Linked DNA regions of Homo sapiens: all the other regions are linked to region 4. Evidence: promoter capture Hi-C in 16 types of primary human blood cells and fetal thymus (Javierre and others, 2016). All regions are on one chromosome and are shown on one strand. Each heading gives the region's core, a stretch centred on a gene start or on the middle of the fragment in contact. The rest is flanking DNA. Distances are from core to core; before and after follow the strand shown.

The links. The method cuts DNA at HindIII sites, captures the fragments that hold promoters and counts their contacts. A CHiCAGO score of 5 or more calls a contact.
Region 1: a contact is called between a fragment that was not itself captured here and the fragment with the promoter of SLC5A4 in region 4, in 1 of 17 cell types (monocytes). The highest score is 5.3, in monocytes.
Region 2: a contact is called between a fragment that was not itself captured here and the fragment with the promoter of SLC5A4 in region 4, in 3 of 17 cell types (activated CD4 T cells, monocytes and M1 macrophages). The highest score is 6.5, in activated CD4 T cells.
Region 3: the fragment with the promoter of BPIFC here is called in contact with the fragment with the promoter of SLC5A4 in region 4 in 1 of 17 cell types (M1 macrophages); the score reaches 5.3 in M1 macrophages.

The regions. Positions count from the first base shown.
Region 1 is chr22:32,120,708-32,123,416 of GRCh38, forward strand. It overlaps LOC105373000 (a long non-coding RNA gene), which reads right to left and starts at 962. Exons shown (of 3, transcript XR_938172.3): 1 at 704-962. It also overlaps the pseudogene AP1B1P1. The HindIII fragment of the contact is 8,321 bases long and covers 1-2,709 here.
Region 2 is chr22:32,079,179-32,081,878 of GRCh38, forward strand. It overlaps SLC5A1 (solute carrier family 5 member 1), which reads left to right. Exons shown (of 15, transcript NM_000343.4): 6 at 2,688-2,700. Among named protein-coding and RNA genes, the nearest start is that of SLC5A1, 37 kb to the left of the region's middle. The HindIII fragment of the contact is 2,523 bases long and covers 73-2,595 here.
Region 3 is chr22:32,463,184-32,465,896 of GRCh38, forward strand. BPIFC (BPI fold containing family C) reads right to left here and starts at 1,263. Exons shown (of 17, transcript NM_174932.3): 1 at 1,191-1,263. The HindIII fragment of the contact is 5,490 bases long and covers 988-2,713 here.
Region 4 is chr22:32,253,906-32,256,605 of GRCh38, forward strand. SLC5A4 (solute carrier family 5 member 4) reads right to left here and starts at 1,442. Exons shown (of 15, transcript NM_014227.3): 1 at 1,290-1,442; 2 at 237-308. The coding sequence starts at 1,424. The region is part of intron 2 of SLC5A4-AS1 (SLC5A4 antisense RNA 1); the gene reads left to right. The HindIII fragment of the contact is 3,569 bases long and covers 1,201-2,700 here.

The DNA of each region.
Region 1 (2,709 bases), core at 32-2,531, 130 kb before region 4:
AGCCACGGAAAGTGCCCCCAACCAGCCTCCCGCCATGGGAAGTGACTCCCGGGATAGCGCCCCCAAGCAGACCCTAGCCTTGGGCAGTGACGCCCGGGTAGGTCGCCCAACCGCCACCCACCCCGTTGCCGAGAGTGCAGCACCAGATAGCGACCCTAACATGCCCCCCATCACTGGCGGTGTAGCCCAGGATAGCGCCGCCAACCCCTCACTTGACGCGACAGTGTAGCCCCTGATAGTGCACCCAATCTGCCACCCACTGCCGGCACTGCAACCCCGGATAGTGCACCCGACACACTCCCTGCTGGGCAGTGCAGCCCCCCAATAGCACCCAACCCGTCCCTCCACCCCTGCCACTGGCAGTCCACTCCCGATAATGCCCCCAACACGTTCCTGGCTGTGGGCAGTGTAGTCCATAGATAGCGCCCCAAACCAGCCCCCAGCCATGGGCAGTGACACCTCAGATATCACACCCAAGGAGTTCCCCACCATGGGCACTGATGTCCCAGACAGCACCCCAACTCGAGCCTCGTGTGACCAATGCAGCCACAGATAGGCCCCCAACAAGCCCCCACCCCACCACTGCTGCAGGAAATGATGCCTGGGATAACACCCAACCATTCCCCACCGTGGGCAGTGCAACACCCAGTACTGCCCCTAACACACCCCCCACACAAGATGGCGCCCCCAATCCCCCCCTCACCTTGGGCAGTGTAGTTCACGATAGTGCATCCAATCCTTGGCCCCTGAGCTCACTGCCCCTCTCCCCCCGCCACAAGTCCCTGGATAGCTCACCTACTCTGCCACCTTTCTACCACTTTGGCTGTGCTGTACTCTACCTCACTGCCACCAGCCACAGTGAGGCGAGCCATGCTGCTGCAGGCTCAAGCCTCCAGCATGCCACCGGTGACAACTCCTTCTCTAATCTGGGGTCGGAACAGATGGGCGGGCAGACGTAGAAGAACCTGGAATGGCAAGACTCTCGCTTACAAAGGTTATGCAAATTAGGTTCCTGGACTACATGTTCTGATTGGATGAGAGAAAAATCTCTAGGTCTACTATGATTGGGCTTTATTTTCGTGTTGTGACTGGATGAGAGGAAGTCTTAGGATAACCAATCAGAACATGATAACAAAGTCCAATCAGACTAGGCCTAGAGGTTTCTCTTGTCCAATCAGAACATGTAGTCCAGGAACTTCATTTGCATCAACTCCACATATAAAGGATGCCAAGTGAGGCGGCTCCTCATTCTAGGCTCTTCAGTGTCCACTGGTGTAGCTGCTCCATTCCAGGCTTACAGGAGAAGGAGGAGGAGGCACTTGCCACGCACGCTGGAGACTCGAGCCTGCCTTGGCTCCCCTTGCTGCTGTGGTTGGTGGTGGCAAGGAAGACGACAGTGCAGCCAGGATGGTAAAAAGGTGGTGGGATAGGTTCGCTATCCCAGGAGGTACTGCCTGAGGCATGGGGGGTGGGTTGGGGTCCCTATCCAGGGCGTCACTGCCCGTGTTGAGGGGCTGGTTGGGTGTGCTATCTGGGGCATCACTGCCTGTGGAGGGGAGTGGGTTGGGGCCCTATCTGGGGTGTGCTGCCCGTGGCTGGGGGTGGGTTGGGGCACTATCCCAATCTGTACTGCTAGCGGCAGTGGGTGGTTTTGGGGGGCACTATCTGGGGATGCACTGCCTGCGGCCAGGGGGTGAGTTGGGAGAACTATCGGGTGCTGCAATGCCCTTGTTGGGCACAGGTTGGGGGCGCTATTGGGTGCTACTCTGCCTGTGGTGGGTGGGACATGTGGTATCTGGGGCATCATTGCCTGCGTCTGGGAGCTGGTTGGGGGCACTATCCATGGCTGCACAGCCTACAGCAGGGAGTGGGTTGAGCGCACAATCTGGGGCTGCAATGTTGGTGGTGGGGGACGGGTTAGGGTCACTATAGGGTGCTACACTATTGGCGGCAGGGAGGGGGGTGTTGAGGTTGCTATCGGGGGCTACACTGAGGCAGAAGTAGCGGGGTTTATTGGGAGTGCTACCAGGGACCAGAATGCCCGTGGAGAGGGGGTGGGGGGTTGGTTGGGGGTGCTACTGAGGATACACTGCCCATGGTGGGTGGAGGGGGGTGGGCTGGGTGCTATCAGAGATCTGTACTGCCTGTCAGGGAGCCAGTGAGTATGCTATCTGGGGCCACGTTGGCTCAGGGGGCGGGGGCAGGTTGGGTGCACTATTGGGGACTACACTGCCAGCGGCAGGGCGTGGGTTGGGTGCGTTATCCATGGCTGCACTGCCAGAGGCAGGGAGTGCATGGGGGGCGCTATCCTGGGCTGCTACTCCCGGTGGGAGCAGATTGGAGCGCTATCTGGGGTTGCACTGCTTGCAGTGGGGGGTAGTTTGGGTGCCATATTGGGGCGTCACTGCCAGTGGCGGTGGTCTGGTTGGGGCCGCTATTCATGGCTACACCGTCTATGGCATGGAGCGGATTGAGGTTGCTACCCTGGGCTGCAGTGCCCGTGGCTGGGGGCAAGTTGCAGGTGCCAGCAGGTGCTTCAGTGTCCGAGGCAGGGGCAGGTTGGGGGCGCTATCAGGTGCTGGTGATGGGGGGCAGGGTGTTGGGGGCGCTATCGGGGGGCTGCACTGTCACCCTGGCAGCAGGCAGCAGAGGTGTCAGTGACAGCAGTGGTCAGAGGAGCAGTCCTCCTCTCCCTGACTCAGGCTCCAG
Region 2 (2,700 bases), core at 84-2,583, 170 kb before region 4:
TAGGAAGGACCAAAGACTAATGTCAGAGCACCCAGACTAGAGTGGCCTTGCTCAGCTGGAGTCAGCTACATAAGCTTAGCTAAGGTATTCCCAGCCTGGCCTTTGGCATGCCAAGGCAGAATTCATCTCTGAAGTTAGAATGACTCATGCGAGGAAGAATTTGTCCTAGGTTTCTTCAATTCACCAGGGAGGTTTCCTTAGAATCCTTTATCTGTACTGTTAGAAGGAAATAGAATATCATAAAAACAAGACTTTTATTAGCCCAACACTTTTCAGAAGTCTTTATAGAGGTCATTTATAGCATTATCTTATAACTTATGTGTTGCCTCTTTGTGACTAATGACAGCAAGGCACATATTAATGAGGGTATCACAGTCTACGATGGCATGTTGTCATAAAGCATTAAAAATTAACTACTCTGGAAAATCAACCAAGGGCAGTTTAAAGGCAGTGTCAGCTTTGTAATCTTTTCCTATCTTATTTACACTTATTAGCTAATCCACCAAATCAAACGTGTGTGCATTTAACAGAATTTCACTGCAATCAGTGAATGGGGCCCCTTGAATTTAAGTAACTTTATGTGACTGTGTAGAGGCATGAGAGGAGAGGGACCAGCATTATAAATATTCATTACAATTTCAAATGGCCCAGTGTGCAGAGTCAGGAAGAAGTGGCCATTTCACTTTTGGCAAGACTTATGCACAGCAGAGGCGCCTTCCTCCTCTTGGGCTACTGCAGAGGGCAAGGCAGAATGGAAGCGGTCCAGAACCCGGGAGAAGAATGCTTTCCTCACTGCAGACCTTTCCCACTTCCAACCACTGAGAATCACAAGTCCCTGGAGCCAGGACTTCCTGCATAAACACGAGGACACTGAGAATTAGAGAGGGGAAATGTTTTGCCCAAAGGTTTGCAGGCCTAGAGTGGCGGCACTGGGGCTAAAATGCTGGTTCTTCTGACTGCTAACTCCAGGGAGAGAGGAGTTTCTTTCTAACTCACCATCTCTCCTCCCACCTCCTGGCTCTGCCTCCCCTCCTTCACCAGGGAAGATGGTGACATTGGGTCCCCTGGGTGAGAGAATCTTCAGGGGAGATCTGGGCAGAGGGGAACTATGGCATCAGGTCCTCAAAAGGCCCACCTTCGGGAAGGAGGTCGAATCACCCTCCAGGGCTCACGTGTTAGCTCAGAAGCATGGAGTTGGTATTAGATGTGCTCTTTGCTAACTGATGGAGGGAGGGAATAGGAGATTCTCATAGGAGGGACAGGCAGGTATGGTGGGAAACTTAAACACTGGAGGGCCCTCAGGAGCAGCAATGGGATGGGGACTGGGAAACGGAACTAGAGAGGAGATGCAAGATATAAGAGGAGATGTGAGAAGTAAGAGTCCAACCCTGCTGGCCCATCCCCAAGGCTCCGTCTGGGTGCTGTTTGCGTGCCGTGAAATGTTAGGGTTTGTGCAGTGAAAACAGTTCGTGCATTCATTCCATCTAGGGAAGTCCAGTTTCGTCCACACCTGGAGATTTGAAAACAAAAGACTCAGCTGGGCGCAGTGGCTCACGCCTGTAATCCCAGCACTTTGGGAGTCCAAGGCAGGCAGATCACGAGGTCAGGAGTTCGAGACCAGCCTGACCAACATGGTGAAATCCTGTCTCTACTAAAAATACAAAAATTAGCTGGGTGTGGTGGTGCACACATGTAATCCCAGCTACTCAGGAGGCTGAGGCAGGAGAATCGCTTGAACCCAGGAGGCAGAGGTTGCAGTGAGTTGAGATCGCACCACTGCACTCTAGCCCGGGCGACAGAGTGAGACTCTGTCAAAAAATAAATAAATAAAAAAGACTCACCATGATCATCCCTTAATACTACCCTCCCTGGTATTGTTTTGGAGATGACATGAACATGCATTTGGGGTGACCCTGGTGCTCTCTGCTGGTTTATATGAGCAACTGCACCATCCAGCCAGGTAGAAGGTTCATTAGGAGAAGGCTGAAAGAGACAGGAAGGAGGAGAAAGGGTGAAGATGGAAGAACTGCATCAAGAATTCAGGAGTGAGGAGGGAGCAATTCTCCCAGAAATTACATGAAATAATCTAAATAAAACCAGCAAGTACCAAGCCTGCTATGTAAGAGGTGCTTGGTGATGTTCTGGTTGTGTCTGAGTCAAGATGGACTGCATCCGGGTTGGGGAGTTAAAATTACAAACTTGCTAAGTTTCTCCCCGCTCCTGGGTGGGGGTGGGGTTTCTCACTTATGGACTCTCCAGCACTCAGACTTGCTTTTGGGGACGAGCTCTGATAAACCTGTGTACACTGAGGTGCAAAAGATGGACAATAGCTCAGAGCAACAGTCTACAGGTGACTTGCAAGGAACCTCTAAGTGTTAATAGCTGTTCCTTGGCAAAAAGAGTTCAATAGTTGAGTGAGTTTGTGAGATGTCATGTACCGTGTTCCCTCCCTGGGGATGACTGTACATGGCATATATTAAAGGCTCAGAAAAGTTGTGTGGCAAAGAAACTGCCTTAATTCTGTTTAGCATTTTATAGACCTTTTTGACCATGGAATTCTTTTTCTCATGGAATACGTATTATCATCTTGAATAAAGCTTGCTTGGAAAATCAGGAGTAGAGAGACTACAGGCCCTGTAGGCAGCTGACCACTCTCCCTCCTAACTCCGCCTCTCCTCTCCTTCCAGGCAGACATCTTCT
Region 3 (2,713 bases), core at 13-2,512, 210 kb after region 4:
TTGAATTGTTCAGTTACGATGATAACTTATGGGCAGGGGAGGAAAGGAACCTTGTCAAGCAAGGTGATGACTACTAAAAGGTTAAGTAATTTGGCTGACAAGTGCAGGCAGGGCTAGTTGCCTGTTAAAAGGATCCAAGATCACTTAAAAACCCCACCAGCAAGTTATCTATTTTGTTGCTTCTGGGGAATTGCTTCTTTCCAAGATTCAAAATCTCAGTAGTCATTATTTTTCCATACAAATACACAGACAGAATAATACTCCTAAATTAAATGGTCCTTGTGTGAGTCATCCTGACAGCTAAGAAAATGCCAGTCCAATTTAGAAAACACCTGAAACTCACAGATGGTCCTACTACTACTGCTGCTTGGCAAGAGCTTTGACTGACTCTGGAAAAACCGATTAAGGGAGTAATGAATGAGTAAAATGTAGCCTTCAAAACAGAGGCGCAGGTTGAAAAATTAAGTTCAACAGGTTTAAAGAAGTCTAAACTAGAAGGGTATTCCGACATATTGGTTAAGACAAAATGACCGTACATAAGAAGTCTAAATCGACAGGTATGGAACGTGGGCAGAATATTTCAAGGGATCCACTCCTCACATCTAGTTTTATAGCAACATCTCTAATGACAAGGACCTTGAGAATTCATAGCATGTCTTTTCCCCAAAACTCTATGCCTAACACCAACAAGTTCAACAGTCCAGGCAAGTGGGTGGCTAGTTTTGCTCTGGCAGGATCTAGGTCACTGATGTGCTTTAAGACCTGCCTTGAAAGCACAGAGATTATAACAACTCCTTAGTCCTAACCATGCTGATTTTGAGAGACAAGATAGAATTTTCTGCCACTGTGCTGGGTTCCCCTCTGAAATGGAGGCAAAAATAAGTCCAGATCACTGAGCAACCCTCTTAACATTGTTCCATGATGCAAAACTAAGTAGGTGGTTTAAACCAACTCTTTTCTCTCTTATGGCTGTTTAGCTGTCACTAAAGCTTTTGCCTAAGAAGCCTCCAGGTGCGCATATGTGACATCACACAAACAAACAAACAAAGATACAGAAAAATCTAGGCAGACAATAATAATAACCCAGGATATATGACAGCTGCCTGTTCAAAGTGTCCTACCAAATCTGGGACATCTCCAGTTTGGAGATCATGGCTGGCAGAGACCTGAAGTTTGTTCATGAGTCTTACCTCAAGCAGAGGAAGTGTCCAAAGCTGGAGAGCACCTTCGATTCTCTCTGCCTTTGAAGCTGATGTGTTCTCCACCTTGCGCCTTAAACTCAGCTGCTAAAAAGCCAAGATAATTAAGTCTGACTCATCTCAGTGGTGAATTTTTTTAATGCCTCTTTCAAAATGTGATACATAATTGCTTCACTACAATTACCCAATGGCATGAATGAGCACTACAGTATCTACCTAGATAAACAGACAGTGCCACCTATGCAATAATTATCTTCCTGCAAAACACACACACACACACACACACACACACACACACACCACTTGTGAAATTGTGATGGCTACTTTACCAAAATGATTGAAAACGGTGTTAAACTGCATTGGAAGAGGAAGAATTTTCCTGTCTGGAATCATAAGCTGGTTCCTTCTGGTCAGGGTGCCTGCGGTGGATGGCTCTACTACTGCCCAGAATACCTTTGGGACTTGTGGTGGATCATCAGATTCAGTCTGAAAGCATGAGGCTTGACAATCGGGCTGACCTAGTTACCTTATCACTCAGGGTAGGACCTCAGTTGGCATCTCTCAGTGTCCGTCCGCTCCTTTTCAGAATGTTATTAATGACTTACTGTTCCAGCATTCCTTAAACCTAAGTTGGGTGGGTGGGTTCATCAACTATTATGCAACTTAACATTTTCAGATTCCAAACTCCAGCCCTACTCTCATCTCCAATAAATTCATTTTAGTTAATGTGTTTTATCTATTTTTATTTTTATTTATTTATTTTTTGAGATGGAGTCTCACTCTGTCACCCAGGCTGGAGTGCAGTGGAGCGATCTTGGCTCACTGCAACCTCCGCCCCCTGGGTTCAAACAATTCTCCTGCCTCAGCCTCCCTAGTAGCTGGGATTACAGGAGTGCGCTACCACGCCCAGCTAATTTTTTGTATTTTTAGTACAGACAGGGTTTCGCTGCATTGGCCAGGCTGGTCTCGAACTCCTGACCTCATGTGATTGATCCACCCGTGTTGGCTTCATAAGTGCTGGGATTACAGATGTGAGCCATCATACCCGGCCATTAATGTATTTTAGATGGCCAGGGATTTGATTGTATGAAGTTTTTTTTTTTGTTTTTTGGTTTTTTTTTTTTTGAGACAGTCTCACTGTCACCCAGGCTGGAGTGCAGTGGCATGATCTTGGCTCACTACAACCTCTGCCTCCAGGGTTTAAGCGATTCTTGTGCCTTAGCCCTCTGAGTAGCTGGAATTACAGGTGTGCACCACCAAACTTGGCTAATTTTTGTATTTTTAGTAGTGATGGGGTTTCACCATGTTGGCCAGGCTGGTCTTGAACTCTTGACCTCAAGTGATCCACCTGCCTTGGCCTCCCAAAGTCCTGGGATTACAGGCATGATCCACCGCACCCAGCCTGATTGCATGAAGTTCTTATGGCTTATCTACACTTTTCTGGGTAAGACCCGGTGACCAACTGTCCTGGTTTCCCAAGAATGCAGGATTTTCAGTACTAAAACCAGAACAGT
Region 4 (2,700 bases), core at 192-2,691:
GAGTAGCTGGGATTACAGGCATACACACCACCACGTCCAGCTAATTTTTGTATTTTTAGTAGAGATGGTTTCACCATGTTAGTCAGGCTGGTCTCGAACTCCTGACCTCAGATGATCTGCCAGCCTTGGCCTCCCAAAGTGCTGGGATTACAGGCGTGAGACACCGCACCCAGCCTACATTCAGTTTTAAGCACACACACAGGAAATTTATCTCCAGAAAACTTCGATCCACTTACCGGCCACCAGGCCATATCACGACCAGCGAGGAAGAAGCCTCCTATAGTACCTCGGTTGGTCTTCAGCATCGCCTGAGCAGAAGGGAAGACAGGTGAGGGTCAAGCCCCAGCAAGTGCACCCAGACACCCCAGAGGCTCTGGCCAGGGTGCTGAGAGGGGTGACTTCAGCACTCCTACAGAGAGAAACATTTCGCTGGAAAGTGTTCTATAGCATCAAATTTTAAAGGACTTCAAAAACAGTCGCTTTGTAAAAACCCAGGGCTGGAAGAACTTAAAAAAATCATAATCCTTAACTTCTATCTTAACTGCTCTGATTATTCTCACTTATGAAAACCATGTGAGGTATCATTGAGCCATGCTTGCAATAAAATTTGCAGTCTCGGCCGGGCACGGTGGCTCACGCCTGTAATTCCAGCACTTTGGAGGGCCGAGGCGGGTGGATCACAAGGTCAAGAGATCGAGACCATCCTGGCCAACATGGTGAAACCCCGTCTCTACTAAAAATACAAAAAGTTAGCCGGGCGTGGTGGCGCATGCCTGTAGTCCCAGCTACTTGGGAGGCTGAGGCAGGAGAATGGCGTGAACCCAGGAGGCGGAGCTTGCAGTGAGCCAAGCAAGCGCCACTGCACTCCAGCCTGGACGACAGAGCAAGACTCCGTCTCAAAAAAAAAAAAAATTTGCAGTCTCAAATTTATTAAAATAAAAAAATTCAACATAAATGAAGAGTCCAACTCACTAAATCAGAAAGTGAGCAAACAACAAAAGAAAGCGAAAGAAATGCGATAATAAAAATACACTCTTTGTCCATTATGCCAGGTGTTGGGGATGCATAGTAAATCTGAAGGTCCCGGTGCTGGCTGTGTGCACACGATGGGGTTATTAGGAGAATACATTAGTTCATTGTAAGCGTTATTTATGCAACACACAAGAAAATGATTCTGATAACACAATGACATTTGTGAAAAGCTTTGTCACAACCACACCCCTTCCCCCCTTAAGATACCCCCTCCTAAACCTTGTGCCCACCCTAAAAGCCACTGGGATTCCACCTACCCACAGCCCAACAGCCATCACCACCAGAAAATAGATGACAATGACTGAGATGTCAGCAGCATTTCGGATGTGGTCAGACAATGGAGGTGGCTCTGGGGTCTCAGCTATGGTGCTGGGGCTAACCGTACTGGCCATGGCTGCAGGCAGTGCTATACCCATTCCACGCATGAGCCATCTTTATATAAGTTCTGGGTTAATGATCAGCCTCAGGCAGGTGGGGCGAGATATCAGAGCCAGCTCCTGGATATGGAGACCTTTAAACCTCTTCTCCAAAGCTGTGGCACCCCAGCCCTCCACCAGTGAGTGCTAGCCTAGGTAGAGTGTGAGAATGAGGGATGCAGGGCCAGAAATGAGGGGAGAATTTGAGGTGGAGCATGGGGCGTTCTCTGAGTGCAAAGACAGGGTCTTTAAAGAGATTTGCCCAGGTGGAGGGGGGATTTGAGAGAAATGAAGACAGACAAGGAGGGGAGAAGGACAGACTAGAAGGTACCAGAAACCAGCCAGGAGGGACCGAATGCAATGGTCCTTCAGAGAACAGATACAGTTTCTGACCAATGAGCTATATCCCTTGACAGTGAAGTGAATTATGCCTTTCGTGGATTCCAAAGTCCCACATTTCTCTGAAGTGGGTTTCATGTGCCACAAAAAGACATTGGTGGCCTGTATAGGAAAGGAAGTGGCTCTTCAAGCACCATATGTGGTGAGTTGAGGGCAGAGCTGTGGAGAGCGCTGGGTCAGAGGGTTGTACAAAGAGTGAATCAACCTGGAAGCATGTGATGGGGATCATGAGGACTCAGGAAACAAGACTCCTGGACTACAGCCAAGAAGAAGTTAGAAGTAAAGCCTATGCGGTGGCTGACACCTGTAATCCCAGCACTTTGGGAGGCCAAGGAGAGAGCATCACTTGAGGCCAGGAGTTCAAGACCAGCTTGGGCAACATAGGGAGTCTTTGTCTCTATAAAAATTAGCTGAGTGTGGTGATGCACACGTATGGTCCCAGCTACTTGGGAGGCTGAAGAGGGAGGATCACCTGTGACTGGGAGGTCAAAGCTATAGTGAGCCATGATCACGCCGCTGCACTCTAGCCTGGGCAACTGAGCAAGATCCTGTCTCAAAAACAAACAAAAAAAACAACAACAAAAAAACAAAACCAAAAACACACATGAAAAAACGGAAAGCCCAGAAATTCTTCTTTTATACTTCATTTTTTATTGTGGCAAAGCATACATAGCATAAAATTTACCATTTTAATCCCTTTTAAGTGTACAATTCATTGGCATTAAGTACATTTACAGTGTTATGCAGCCATTACCACTATCCATTTCCAGAACTTTTTCATCATCTCCAAACAGAAGTATGTACCCACTAAAAACTAACTCCCCATCCCTCCCTCTCTCCAGGCCCTGGTAAC